Regions from separate parts of the Homo sapiens genome. Here region 2 is linked to region 1. The links are contacts of gene promoters, found by promoter capture Hi-C in blood cells and fetal thymus (Javierre and others, 2016). All regions are on one chromosome and are shown on one strand. Each heading gives the region's core, a stretch centred on a gene start or on the middle of the fragment in contact. The rest is flanking DNA. Distances are from core to core; before and after follow the strand shown.

The links. The method cuts DNA at HindIII sites, captures the fragments that hold promoters and counts their contacts. A CHiCAGO score of 5 or more calls a contact.
Region 2: a contact is called between the fragment with the promoter of FAM178B here and the fragment with the promoter of ANKRD39 in region 1, in 5 of 17 cell types (non-activated CD4 T cells, naive CD8 T cells, erythroblasts and 2 more). The highest score is 10.4, in non-activated CD4 T cells.

Annotation. Positions count from the first base shown.
Region 1 is chr2:96,856,756-96,863,574 of GRCh38, forward strand. ANKRD39 (ankyrin repeat domain 39) reads right to left here and starts at 1,261. Exons shown (of 4, transcript NM_016466.6): 1 at 1,133-1,261. The coding sequence starts at 1,232. It overlaps SEMA4C (semaphorin 4C), which reads right to left. Exons shown (of 15, transcript NM_017789.5): 13 at 4,982-5,139; 14 at 4,824-4,894; 15 at 2,963-4,700. The coding sequence ends at 3,871. RefSeq lists silencers at 922-1,091, 1,122-1,791. The HindIII fragment of the contact is 20,079 bases long and covers 1-6,819 here.
Region 2 is chr2:96,983,842-96,989,984 of GRCh38, forward strand. It overlaps FAM178B (family with sequence similarity 178 member B), which reads right to left and starts at 2,739. Exons shown (of 17, transcript NM_001122646.3): 1 at 2,400-2,739. The coding sequence starts at 2,472. RefSeq lists enhancers at 1,776-2,296, 2,297-2,817. The HindIII fragment of the contact is 31,542 bases long and covers 1-6,143 here.

The DNA of each region.
Region 1 (6,819 bases), core at 11-2,510:
TCTCTGAGGAGATGACATTGGAGCTGGGATCTGAAGAAAAGCATCAGCTAGCTTAACGGTTGTAGGAAGTTCATTCTAAGGAGATGGGACAGCAAGTCCAACGGCCTTAACTCAGGAAAAGGTCTTGCATATTTGAGACACCAAAACAAGACCAGTGTGGCTGCGGCGTAGTGATTGGGGGAAGAAAAGCATGAGAAATAAAATGAGGAGGAGAAGTAGAACCGGCAGGGGTGGGTCTACAGAGCTTTGTAGGCCATAACAGGGAATGATGTGATTTCTAATTTTCAAAAAGCCGCTCTGGCTGCTATGTGAGAGTAGAAAACCCTGTAGGAAGGCAAGCGTGGAAGCAGAAAGACCCTCTGAGGCAACCACTTCAGCAGTGCAGAGGACAGCGGTAGGAGGGGCGGAGGGAAGTAGGCAGGTGCCAGAACCACGGTAAAGGAAGAGTTCCATGAGAATGCTTACACAGCAGTGGCAATCGAGGGCTGCATCCGCAAGGGCAGATGACACAGCACAGTGGTTCCCAACGCTCACAAGAAGCACCCTGGTTTCCCGCCTTCCTCTGTTCCTATTGGCACCATAATCTCTGTATAATCTGGGCCAAACGTGTTACCTCTCTGGGTCCCACAGATGAGATACTGTGCCCTGCCTCGAAGGCTGCCCGTGCGAAGCTCTTGCCATCTTTAAAGCATGCAGGCTGCCTGGCACCCGGGGCTAAACAAAGGCCACTGCTCTCCTTCACCGCGCAGCCCCCAGGCCTGCAGCTCCATGCCCCTCAGGTTGGGTGCAATGCCCCTGGTGCAGATTCTGCTCCCCGGGCCCTCTCTCAAACACCTGAGCAGGCTTGTGTCTCCCAGGGGAGGTCGTCCCCCGCTACTCGGGAGGGTTACGGAAACCAGTGCTTCCGCTTCCCCGCCGCCCGCGGGACAGGTGTCTCCTGGCCGAGCTCGTGCGGGGCCCTGGGAGGCTCTCAGTACACGGGAACCGTGGGTCCCGCCCGCCTTCCCGCACCAGGCCCCAAGCCCCAAGCCCCAAGCTCTCGGGGCCCCGTTCATCCGCCTCTCCTTGGCCCCACGCCTCCTCCTTGGGCCGGGGCCTGGTGAGAACCACGAGGGCCGCGCGGCAGCCTCACCCCTCTCGAAGTCCATCTCCTCCAGCGTCTGCTGTACGCCGAGCACCGCGCTGGGATGCGAGCAGCAGGGCCCGTCCGCGCAGGGCCGAGGCGTCGCCATCCCGGCCCCGGCGTCAGTCGATCCGCCCCGGGTCTCAGGCTCAGCCTCGGCGGGAGGGGCGGACGCAGGGCCCGCCCCGCGTCCCTGATCTGGCCGCTCGGCGTCCGCGGCTGTCGCCCTAGTCCCGCCTTCTCGCCAAAGCTGACCAATCAAACGCCTAGGCCTTAGCTCGAGAACCAATTGCAACGGTAGGGCGGGGCTTGTTGCGCCCGGCCGTGCCCCGAGGCCTCCGCGCGAGGGCGTCCAAGGCCAAGCGAGGACTGAGGCGCTGGGTTCCGGGAGCCGCGCGCCGCTGGAGGGCCGCCGGGCCGCCTGGCCTTGCAGGGTGTGGGGATGAGGCAGCTGGGTCCGGTCGGGAGCTTTCCCGTTACCTTCGCCATGACCCAGCCGTCCAGCGACCTCGCAGCCTCCTCTCTTTACCGCCCCTAGTCCCTAGGGCAGGGAGGCGCCACGCGCTCCGCGGTCTTTTTTTTTTTTTTTTTTTTTTTTGAGACGGAGTCTCGCTGTCACCCAGACTTGTGTGCAGTGGCGCGATCTCGGCTCACTGCAACCTCCGCCTCCCGGGTTCAAGCGATTCTCCTGCGTCAGACTCCTGAGTAGCTGGGACTACAGGCGCCCGCCACCACGCCCGGCTAATTTTTTGTATTTTTTAGTAGAGACGGGGTTTCGCCAGGATGGTCTCGATCTCTTGACCTCGTGATCCGCTCACCTTGGCCTCCCAAAGTGCTGGGATTACAGGCGTGAGCCATCGGGCCGGGGCGCGCTCCACGGTTTTTAGCCCCTCTTCCTGGCACCACCCCGGACCAAGGCCGACCGCCCCCGGGGCAGCGGCAAAGTGACGGCTGGAAAGGCCTCGAGACGCCCCTCCCCGTACCCTGCTCTTCCTTACAAGTCCAGCAAGGGGCAGGTGGCCACAACTTGTCCTGCCTGTAGCTCCACCTCAGGGCAGGGGCAGGGCCTTGGTTTGTGCAGAACCCCCTGGCCCCACAGTGGGCGCTGAGTTTACGGAATCGGTCTTCATGATCAAAACCCACCGGGAGGCCGTCTGCGGACCGCGCACCTTCGCAGCGTGCTCCTCAGCGGACCCCAGCCTTCTCAATTCCCAGTTAAAACCCAGGCAGCTGCCTGCTCAAGCCACGATCAAGTGTACAGGGGAGACCGCCTGATCGGCTTAGAAAGAGTGCATGAACGACAGAATGCAGGTTGGGTTCTGTGCCAGTCCCTCTCCAGGACAGTGGTCTGGTGCACACTGGATGTAAGTTCCTTCCCCCGCTAGTTGGGGCACGGAAGACCCTAGCATTCCTGGTGGGTAGAAGGCTGGAAGTCGTTTCTCCTCCCCTAAGCAGGTTGAGAACCCCATCCTCACACAAGCAATGATCTCATCTCCACAACCTTCCACTCCTTTGGCCCCTCATTCCCACTACCCGTCTTGAGTTCTGGGAAGGCACCCCCCCCACCACTCCGCTTCTCCCCTGGACTCCCAGTGCCCTGACTTCTCCTTCTGGCCAGAAGCCAAGGCTGGCTCCCAAGGGGCTATGGCCATGGTCTCGTTCCCAGCCCCGCAGCCACCACTGTGGGAAAACACTAGAGCTGGGCTGTCCCCTCCCACAGGCAGGCAGGGACCACAAAAGTGGTGGCTGCCCTGGGATTGTGGGGGAGGCCCAGTCCAGCCTCCCTCCACCCAGAGAGCCTTCCCTCTTGGTACCCAGAAAGGCTTTAGCCCAAACATCTTAGCCCCATCAGAGCAATCGTTTCATTTTCTCCATTTTATTTGTCAATATAAAAATACTCAAATATTTACAACAAATAAATACGCGGGGACACAATAAGTTACACTGTTAGGAGCCCTCCTCCTAGGGCTGGAAGAGAGTATGCCATTGTCCACAGCAGGCCCACCCTCTCCCTTCTCTCCCCTCACACAGCCTTTCCCAGCCCTGTACAGGAAGAAGGCAAGTATAAAATACCACTGAACCCCGGGGCCAAGTGGGAGGCCCCACCCACCCTTCCCCCCAAACACACAGGAGGCTCCATCTCCCTCCCCCCACCCTGAAAACATTCACAGCCCTAGGAGCAGGACTAGGCCCACCCCAAGCCCTGCACTCCCTCTGAAGGGGCACAGCACCCTGTCCACCCCACCTCCATATGTACATCGCTGCCCGACACTCGGGGCAGTGGGGGTAGGAGAGACAAAGTGATACGACCCCTTCCCCTTCATAGCTCCAATGACTCACCAGGAGGACCCAGGCCAAGGGAAGACTTGACAGAAACAGGAAGGCTATGCCACAAGCGCGCACGCGCGTGCACACACACATACACACACACACAAACACATGTGCAAATACAGACAAACACACATCTTGAAACTTCTGCCTTGAAAAGTTTTGGCGGCTGGGGTCCCGCGTGTCTGTGATTCACAGAGAGGAGGAAGATGCCTTCTGCGAGGCTGGTGCCCTGGTGAGCCACACCAAGTGGCAGTGCCCGTGCTGAGCAGAGCAGGTCCTCATGGCCGGGTGGGTGCTGGGCAGTATCTGTCCCAGACAGAGCAGGTGCCCGTGCCATGTCCCTGAGGTAGCTGGTGCCTGTGCAAAAGTAGGAGCTACACCTCCCACGCTTCCCGCCGACGCGGTGGGGGTTCCCCTCATACTGATGACTCCTCGGGGTTGGAGTCGGGCAGTGGCTGGCGTTGCTGCAGTTTGCGTCTCAGTTCATCCGCGAGCTCAGGCAGGGGGTGCCCGAGCCCTCCCCGGTCCTCCCCTCCTAGTTGTAAGCGCACGTAACCATTGGCATTTGAGTTCCGCCCACCCCCCAGGTGAAGCCGAGTTGGAGAAGGCAGAGGCTGGCCTGGGATGCCTGGAGGTGGCGAAGGGGGCCCCCCACCGGGCTGGCACCGGGCATGCCCAGGTACTATCTTAAGGGAGCCATCTGAATAGTAGTAACCGACAGGATCCCAAAGTTTCTCATCTGGTTCAGGACAGGGCCGGAAGGGGGGACTGGTGGGCTCCTTGGGCAGCTCCAGGGGGTACACCAAGGTCCTCTCAGTAGCCTTGGCCCCTTTCTCCAGCTCTTCCCGCAGCCGCCGGCGCAATGACAGCACCAGCAGCAGCAGCACCAGGCACACAGCCCCCAGGGCCACCACCGCCAGCCACACCAGCCCCAGGTTTTCCAGGGGGGCCCGGGCCTCCAAGGTCACCGACGGGCCTGCCACGACAGCCACAAGGTAGCCTTCAGCAGCCAGCCGCGCCCCCTGCTCCTCTGAAAAGCAGTGGTAGGCCCCGGCATGGCGGGGCTGGGCAGCCATCACAACCAGGGCCTGGAGCCGGGCATCGTAGAGGAAGGACCCGGGCTGTTCCGCAGGCAGGTCCCGGCCCCCAAAGGTCCAGCGGGCATGGGCCAAGTTGGAGGAGAGGTGGCAGGGCAGCACCAGGTCTGTGCCCGCCACCACCGTGATGTTTTTGGGAGTGGGCCTGACTGTAGTGGCAGAGAAAACAGAGTGCATGTTAGTGCAGGAAAGCAGGGCTGGGGAAGAGGAGAACAGAAACTCCAGCTCTGGTCCAGGGCTCAGCCCGATGCGACGGGAATGAAAAAGCTCACCTTTCTTACTGCCACGGAGGTTGCAGATGCCTGAAGTGTCCGAGGTCATCACATGCTGGATCAGTAGAGATCTGGTAGGGGATGTAGGGTACATCAGCAGCCTGGCTCCAACCACCCTGAGTCCCTGGAGGTCCTGGCCTATGTAGAGCCCAACTCACCCAGAGTGGCCACCCACGGCCACACAGCGGCTGGTGTTGACGCTCCAGGCGCAATAGGGGTCCCGGGCGAGGACACAGTCTGCACAGGAGCGATACTTCATGCAGTCGGCCACGGGCAGCTGCACCAGCTGAGAGCGGGAGCCGGCAAAGAGCAGCTTCTGCGAGAAAAGCGGGGCGCAGGAGGGGGGTCGGCCAGGGCCACACCACGGGAGGGGCGGCCGGACCAGAACGCAGCATGGGGACAGCTTGGACTCCTGCAGGGGGCACAGCACGGGGCGCCAGAAGGAGGAACAAGGGAACAAGGCAGAGCTATAGTGCTGAAAAGGGAACTCTAAGAACCGCAGAACTCAGAGGGCTTACACAGGCCAGATGCAATCCTAAGCCCCTTATCGACGTGACGTTATTAGAAAGGGATGATGGGGCTGTGAGGCCAAAAAGTATAATCACACACACTCACACACACATAGTGCAGGAAATACATTTCAAGGCCCATCAGCCCTCACAACAGCAGCAGCATAACATAAGATGTTTTCCTGTTTCAACGGTGGATGCCAATCTGTGTGTTTATTCAACCACACACTTTCTTTCTGCCATTATTCCATGTTCTAGGGGACAATTTTGAGTCATAATAGCTGGTAAAAGGCAAACAAATCAAAGTTCAGGAGGTGTAGCAAACATGCCACAAGAGTATTGCACAAGGCAACTAGGAACAGCAGGTCATGCCTGGAATCCCAGCACTTTGGGAGGCTGAGGTGGGCAAATCACTTGAGGTTAGGAGTTCAAGACCAGCCTGGCCAACATGGTAAAACCTTGTCTCTACTAAAAATACAAAAATTAGCCGGCTGGCCAGGCGCAGTGGCTCACGCCTGTAATCCCAGCACTTTGGGAGGCTGAGTCGGGCGGATCGCAAGGTCAGGAGATCGAGACCATCCTGGCTAACACGGTGAAACCCCGTCTCTACTAAAAATACAAAAAATTAGCCAGGCGTGGTGATGGGAGCCTGTAGTCCCAGCTACATGGAAGGCTGAGGCAGGAGAATGGTGTGAACCTGGGAGGCAGAGCTTGCAGTGAGCCGAGATTGCGCCACTGCACTCCAGCCTGGGTGACAGAGCGAGACTCCATCTCAAAAAAAAAAAAAAAAAAAAAAATTAGCTGGGCATGGTGGCACGTGCCTGTAGTCCCAGTTACTTGGGAGGCCGAGGCAGAATTGCTTGAACCCGGGAGGTGGAGGTTGCAGTGAGCAGAGATCATGCCACCGCACTCCAGCCTGGGCGACAGAGTGAGACTCCATCTCAAAGAAAACAAAAACAAAAACAAAAAACCTTTAGCTGGGCATAGTGGCAGGCACCTGTAATCCCAGCTACTCAGGAGGCTGAGGCATAAGAATAGCTTCAACCTGGGAGGTGGAGGTTGCAGTGAGCTGAGATCGCGTCACTGCACTCTAGCCTGGGTGACAGAGTGAGACTCCATCTCAAAAAAAAACCAAAAAGAGTATTGCACAAGGGTATAATGCAAGCACTTCAGGGAAACAGTCACGGAAATGGGGGCTGGAAGGAAAACCACCATGGTGAGGGCATCATAAACATCTCACAGCCTGGGAGGTCTGGTCACAGGGGCATGGTCAGGGAAGAGGCCAGAGCCAGAACCACAGCACAGCTTGGAGGGTCTGAAAGAAACATGGGAGCAGTTGCCAAGGCTTGATGCTGGGAGCGCAGCCCCGTGACCTGGCTATATATAATGGCCCTGTGCAGTGCAGATTCCATTCTGTTTTCATTCTCGTTTCCAGGAACCCACCCCAAGTTAGGCAAGGTGTGCATCCACATGTGTGTGTGTTCCTA
Region 2 (6,143 bases), core at 1,489-3,988, 130 kb after region 1:
CATGCAGCAGTTCAGTAATCTTTATTACTATACAATATTTCATCATATGAATAACTACTACTTATTTATCCATTCCGCTGTTGATGAGCATTTGAGTTATTTCTTGTTTCAAGGTATTATGAATAAATCTGCTATGAATTTTTTTTTCCAAGACAGTTTCGCTTATTGCCCAGGCTGGAGTGTAATGGCACAATCTCGGTTCACTGCAACCTCCGCCTCCCGGGTTCAAGCGATTCTCCTGCCTCAGCCTCCTGAGAAGCTGAGATTACAGGTAGGTGCCACCACACCCAGCTAATTTTTAGTAGTGATGGGGTTTCACCATGTTGGCCAGGCTGGTCTCGATCTCCTGACCTTGTGATCTGCCGCTTCAGCCTCCCAAAGTGCTGGGATTACGGGTGTGAGCCACTGTGCCCTGCCAAAGTGGTACATAAAAACTTTCACTCCGCCACCAGGAAGACAATTTGCCCAACCTGTTCAATACAGTTCCCGCTCAACAAACCCCAATTTAGCATCTTCTATGTGTCAGGCAGTATGCTGAGCATTGGGACCTCAAGGATGAGGAAGATGCAGTCTCTGCCCTAGAGGAGCTTACAGCAGCAGGAAGTTTCTGTCATAGGACAGACCCAGGGCTCACCAAGACTCAAGCAGATGATGAAGCCTGGGGCTCACTGGCCCAATCAGCGTATTCAGACTGGCTGGCTGCTTATGAGGCTCTTGGGCCAGGGCTGCCTGCTCAGTGGGCAGCTGACTCTAGCTGCTGCAAAATGCCTTTCACTCAAAGGTGCTATCTACCAGTGATTATATGGCATTCCAATTTTACCTGGAAGGGAGATGCAGCTACCAGCTGTTTCTTCCCTCTCCCAACCACAAAGTAACACATTTTTCATTTGTCTATCTGTTGTTTCCAGGTTTTTGCTTTTGCCAATCCCCTCCCTCACATGCCTTGAAACAAGCACTTTCAAAGACAAAGACATAAACAACAAAAGGGTGCAGGCTGAGGTGGGTCATCTTCTCTGCCTGCGTCTCCAACTCTGGATCCTGCAGTTACTGGACTCAGGCCATGGCTGACTCCTTCATCACAGCTAAGATGCTGCTGGGTTTAAGGCACTGTGACTTTCTGTGCCACTAAGACCGACAAAAAGCTGCCAAGTGAACGATGACACAAAGAAAGACACAAACTGTGGGACCCAGCCCAACTTCAGAGCTGCTAAAATGTGAACAAAAATGCATCCCGGAATGGATGGAAACCGATCATTCTAGTTGGTGTGACCTGCTCCAGTGCCTACAGTACGTGTCCTGACAGCGTGGGAGGGGATATGAAGGCCCCCCAGTCAAACAGGAGACAGCGTTAGTCTCCAAACTTAACTTTGTTATCTCTTTCCCTCCTGGGGCCCAATACCCGCCAGCCAGGACCTGTTTCTCCTCCATCTCACATTCTTTCCAGGTTCAGGACTGAAGTCGTCTTGTTCAGCTCCTTGACTTGGCCATGCTCACTCTACAATGCAGCCCATGGATGGCGCCCCCTCTGCCCAGCACATCCCTCTGCCTGGGCTCTTGTCTCCCCGAATCCTGCAAACCCCAGCCCCAGCCTTTAGCGTTCAGCCGCCCTCCCCGCTTCCCTCATCCTCCCTCGCGTCCTCGCAGTGAGATTTCAACATGTCATCTCAGTTTTTTTGTTCTTTTACTTTCCTGACTACAAGAAAAATAAAATAATCTGTCTTAAAGTGTAGCATGAGGCCAAATAATTACGGAATCCCAAGTGCTTTGGGCCCTGATGTCAAAAGAGCCAAGATGAATTCAGAATATTACAATGGTGCTGTTTCTGCGAATACTGCTTTTTCAAGACGCCTTATTCCTAACATCATGTTTTATATCCATCCTTTTAAACAAATATTTAATAGCTTGGGAATGCTGGCGAGAGCAGCGGCTCCTGTCAGCAAGGACTGAGCTCACAATTTGAAAGATGAAAGGAGATGCGTTCTACCCACAAAGAAAACGGTCTCCAGCATCATAAACTCCACATCCATCAAACCGGGCAGGGGCTGGGAATAGAAAGCCTTTCTGGAAAGAAAACACCAGCTACCCTTTGCACCCTGGGGAACATTAAAAATCAAAACAAAACATGCCACATCAACCAAAACATAAACCAGTTCTCAAACCAATCTAAGGTTCCACCCCACCAAGGCCGGCCGCGCAGTGGCCTGTGGAGAGGAGGGCCCGGCTCACGTCGGAACCCGAACCACGCGGGGTCGCAGGAACCTGAAAAGCGCCAGAGTAGCCCGGCGGCCGCACCGGGGCTGACCTGCAAGGCCTGGACCAGCCAGGAGTCCCAGGGAAGTCGAGTGCTCTCTGAGCGCTAACCACGCGCCCCTGCGGTTCCTCGGCCTCAGTTTCCTTACCTGTAAAATGGAGCCGCTGATCCTGCCTCCTGAGTTGTGGAGCGAGGCCCGCACCTGGAAGCCTTGGCCACATAGGGCGGGAAGGGCAGGGCTCCGGGGTGAGGGAGGGTGGCGGGAATTCGCACGGCCTCAGAGGACGGGGCCAGCTAGCCGGGAAAGGAAGCAGGAGCAGGCTCCCCAGGCGGCGCAGTGGGAGGACCCCAAGAGTTGCGTCCCTAGATCCAGGGCCGCCAACGTGGAACCTAAAGATCCAGTTCTGGGGATTGAGTTCCGACTCCAAACCAAGCGGCCAGCTCACAGCCGCCGCCGCCGCCAGCTGGGGAGCTCGCCGGCCAAGTGCGCACCCTCTTCCTGTTAGCCCTCCACGTGCGCGCCCTCTTCCTGCTCGCCCTCCACGTGCGCATCCACGTGCGCGGGAATTGGCTGGCGGAAGCTCCTGCCCCCAGGCAGTCCTGGGTCACGCGCACTTGTAGTAGCTTGCATTTACCAAGACAGTGAGACAGTGGCCTGGCGCGGTGTCTCATGCCTATAATCCCAGCACTTTGGGAGGCTGAGACGGGACGATTGCTTGAGCCCAGGAGTGAGAGACCTGCCTGGGCGACATGGCGAAACCCCGTCTCTACTAAAAATACAAAAATTAGCCTGGCGTGGGCAGGGCGCGGTGGCTCACGCCTGTAATCCCAGCACTTTGGGAGGCCGAGGCGGGCGAATTGCCTGAGGTCAGGAGTTCCAGACCAGTCTGGCCAACATGGTGAAGCCCTGTCTCTACTAAAAATTAAAAAACATTAACCGGGCTTGGTGGCTGGCGTGCGCCTGTAATCCCAGTTGCGCGGGAGGCTGAGGCAGGGGAATTGCTTGAACCAGGGAGGTGGAGGTTGCAATGAGCCGAGATCGCGCCACCGCACTCCAGCCTGGGCAGCAGAGCAAGACGCCGTCTCAAAAAAAAAAAAAAAAAAAAAAAAAAAAAAAAAAAAAAAAAAAAAAAAAAGCCGGGCATAGTGGTGCAGTGCCTGTAGCCCCAACTACTTCAGAGGCTGAGGTGAGAGGATCACTTGAGCCTGGGAGGCGTAGGCAGAGGTTGCAGTGAGCCGAGATCGTGGCACTGTACTCCAGCCTGGCGAAAGAGCAAGCCCCCATCTCTAACACACACACACACACACACACACGTGTGAGATAGCTGTGTCTGTTTGGCAGTGATGAGCTTCCCTTTATGGGAGATTTACATAATTATTCATAAAGGAGCGGGAATGGGCATTACTGTTAAGCATGTTACGGGGTCTCCCAGATGTGCATGTGCGTGCTAGTACACCACATCACATGTCTCATTAGCATTTTAATTCCTCACCCAGGGGTGTGTTTTTTAGCATTAAAATGAGCATAGGTCATTCCAAGGACACTCTAATCATGGGTTTCTGCACTTGTGTGAATTTGGGGATTTTCCCTTCTGCTGTTCATCCTCTTCGCTGCAGGATGTTCTAACTAGGAGCCTGATGCAGTTTATGCACCAGTGGGCGGTTTGTTCTCTACATCAATCTGGCAAGTTCATTCCCCTTTAAAGGAGGCTATGACCACTGTATCTAACCGACCTCATTTTCCCCCTCAGAGACTTTGGGTCCATGTTCTTATGAAATGTGGAGGGCTGGGTCATTTTTTCTGGAGCTGCTTCGTGCTGAGACAGGACCAGGGCCCGAAAGTCTCTTCTTGCCTGATTTAAAGTGATAGGGGTCATATCCTCCACTGGGATAAGTTGAAATCCTTGCATAACTATCAATCTAGGAATTGTTGTAACCTAGAAGACACAGACTTTAAAGGAGCTTAAACAAGCAAGGACCAAAGGTCAGTAGTAATAAGATGGCTATTGTAGGTCCCATGAAAGGTAGCAGAATGAAGCATCACATCATTATTCAGCAAGCAGAAGAACAAAAAGAGCTCCTACAAATAGGAGACCTGAGATGGGACTACCTTATGTTAAAGTAATATTAATCTCTTTATTTGGGGTGTTGGCATCTTTTCTTGAAAATGAATGTTAGGTCTTCTATAGGCTTACAAAAGGATTTTTAATTTTTAGTTGTTGATGTAGAGTCCTGTGGAAACGTAAGGGAAACAGTTTTTATCCTAGAGAGATGCACCCAGCTGGCAATGTCCTGGATTCTCTGGACTATGGTGTGTTATGGTGGTCAGCTGGGCTTTTGAGAGTGCTCCTATGAGAAGGGGTTCAGTTGGTTTCATTGGTTTTAAAGAAGCCCCCAACGAGGGTAGCAACAAGGGAGTTAGGCATTCACGTCCTTGAGTCTGCAAATTAAAGGTTGGGTGGCTGGGCACGGTGGCTCACGCCTGTAATCCCAGCACTTTGGGAGGCCGAGGCAGGCGGATCACGAGGTCAGGAGATCAAGACCATCCTGGCCAACATGATGAAACCCCGTCTCTACTAAAAATACAAAAAATTAGCCGGGCGTGGTGGTGGGCGCCTGTAGTCCCAGCTACTCAGGAGGCTGAGGCAGGAGAATGGCATGAACCCAGGAGGCGGAGCTTGCAGTGAGCCGAGATGGTGCCACTGCACTCCAGCCTGGGCAACAGAGTGAGATTCCATCTCAAAAAAAAAAAAAAAAAAAGGTAAAAAGGTTGGGTAAAGTATCTGGTCCGGGTTTTTCATCAATTCCCGTGGCAGTGCAGTGTTTGGCCTATTTGGCCTACTAGGGTCGACGGCAGAATGTAAGGACTGACAGGCTGGTCCCTGTATGTAATAGAAAATTAGCTACACCTGCCACGTGCAGGGTCACTGGATTCCTCTGTGGTAATGGGGACTGAATGACAGCCAGTGTTAGCCTTGGGTCTCCTCAGTCTTTAGTCAGGGCCATCAAGGAATTGGAAGCCCCTGTCTCCCTACGGAGTTGGGGGCAGTCCTGCTTCCGGTGACTGGCATCTCTGCATTGTGGATATGGTCTAGGTGGAGCGGACTTTTGGGCATTTTGTCCCTTGGTCTGGCAGTTTTGGGGCCAGTGTCCTGGTTTTAAGTGTAGCAGGTGTCCCCAGATTGGGGCTTGGTCTGGACTGGCTTGTTCTCTCTGATAGCAAGGGCCAATAATCGGAGGCCTGGTTTATGTCTCTTGCCTCTTCCCTCTTTCACTTTTTAGCCTCTTCTACTCTGTCTCATTATAGAAGACTTCAAAGGCTACATTAATTAGCTCATTCATTGGTGCCTGGGGACTTACAGCCAGTTTTTGTAACTTTCTCTTAATATCTGGAGCAGATTGACTAATAAAATGAGTCCCCAGAAGAATTTGACCTGCCTCAGAGACAGCATCTACATTGGTATATTTTTCTAATGCCTTTACAAGGCACCCCTGTGAAGACTCAAAAGGACCATATAATATTTCAAAGGTGCTGGGTTGCAGATTGGTCTTGGGAGCCGCTCTTACTTGGAGGAACGCTAGAGGCAATCACTTTAATAAGGACTCAGAAGTCTCTTGCCAGAGCTTCGCCAGAGTTTTCTTTACAAGTAGCTTTTTCTAGCTTTCCTGAGGATGGAGGTCTCCAGGAAGCATGTAAATGATCACTTACTCCTAGAGTGGTAGCACTTGCTGGGTTATTTTGGAAACAAAGGAGGGGCCATTGTCGCTTTGGAGTGACATAGGTAGCCCAAATCGGGGAATGATTTCTTTTAAGAGGCACTTGTGCCTTTTCTGTTTTGGTGGAGTAGGCTTCAATCTATCCCATGAAAGTATCTGTAGAGATCAGTAAGTG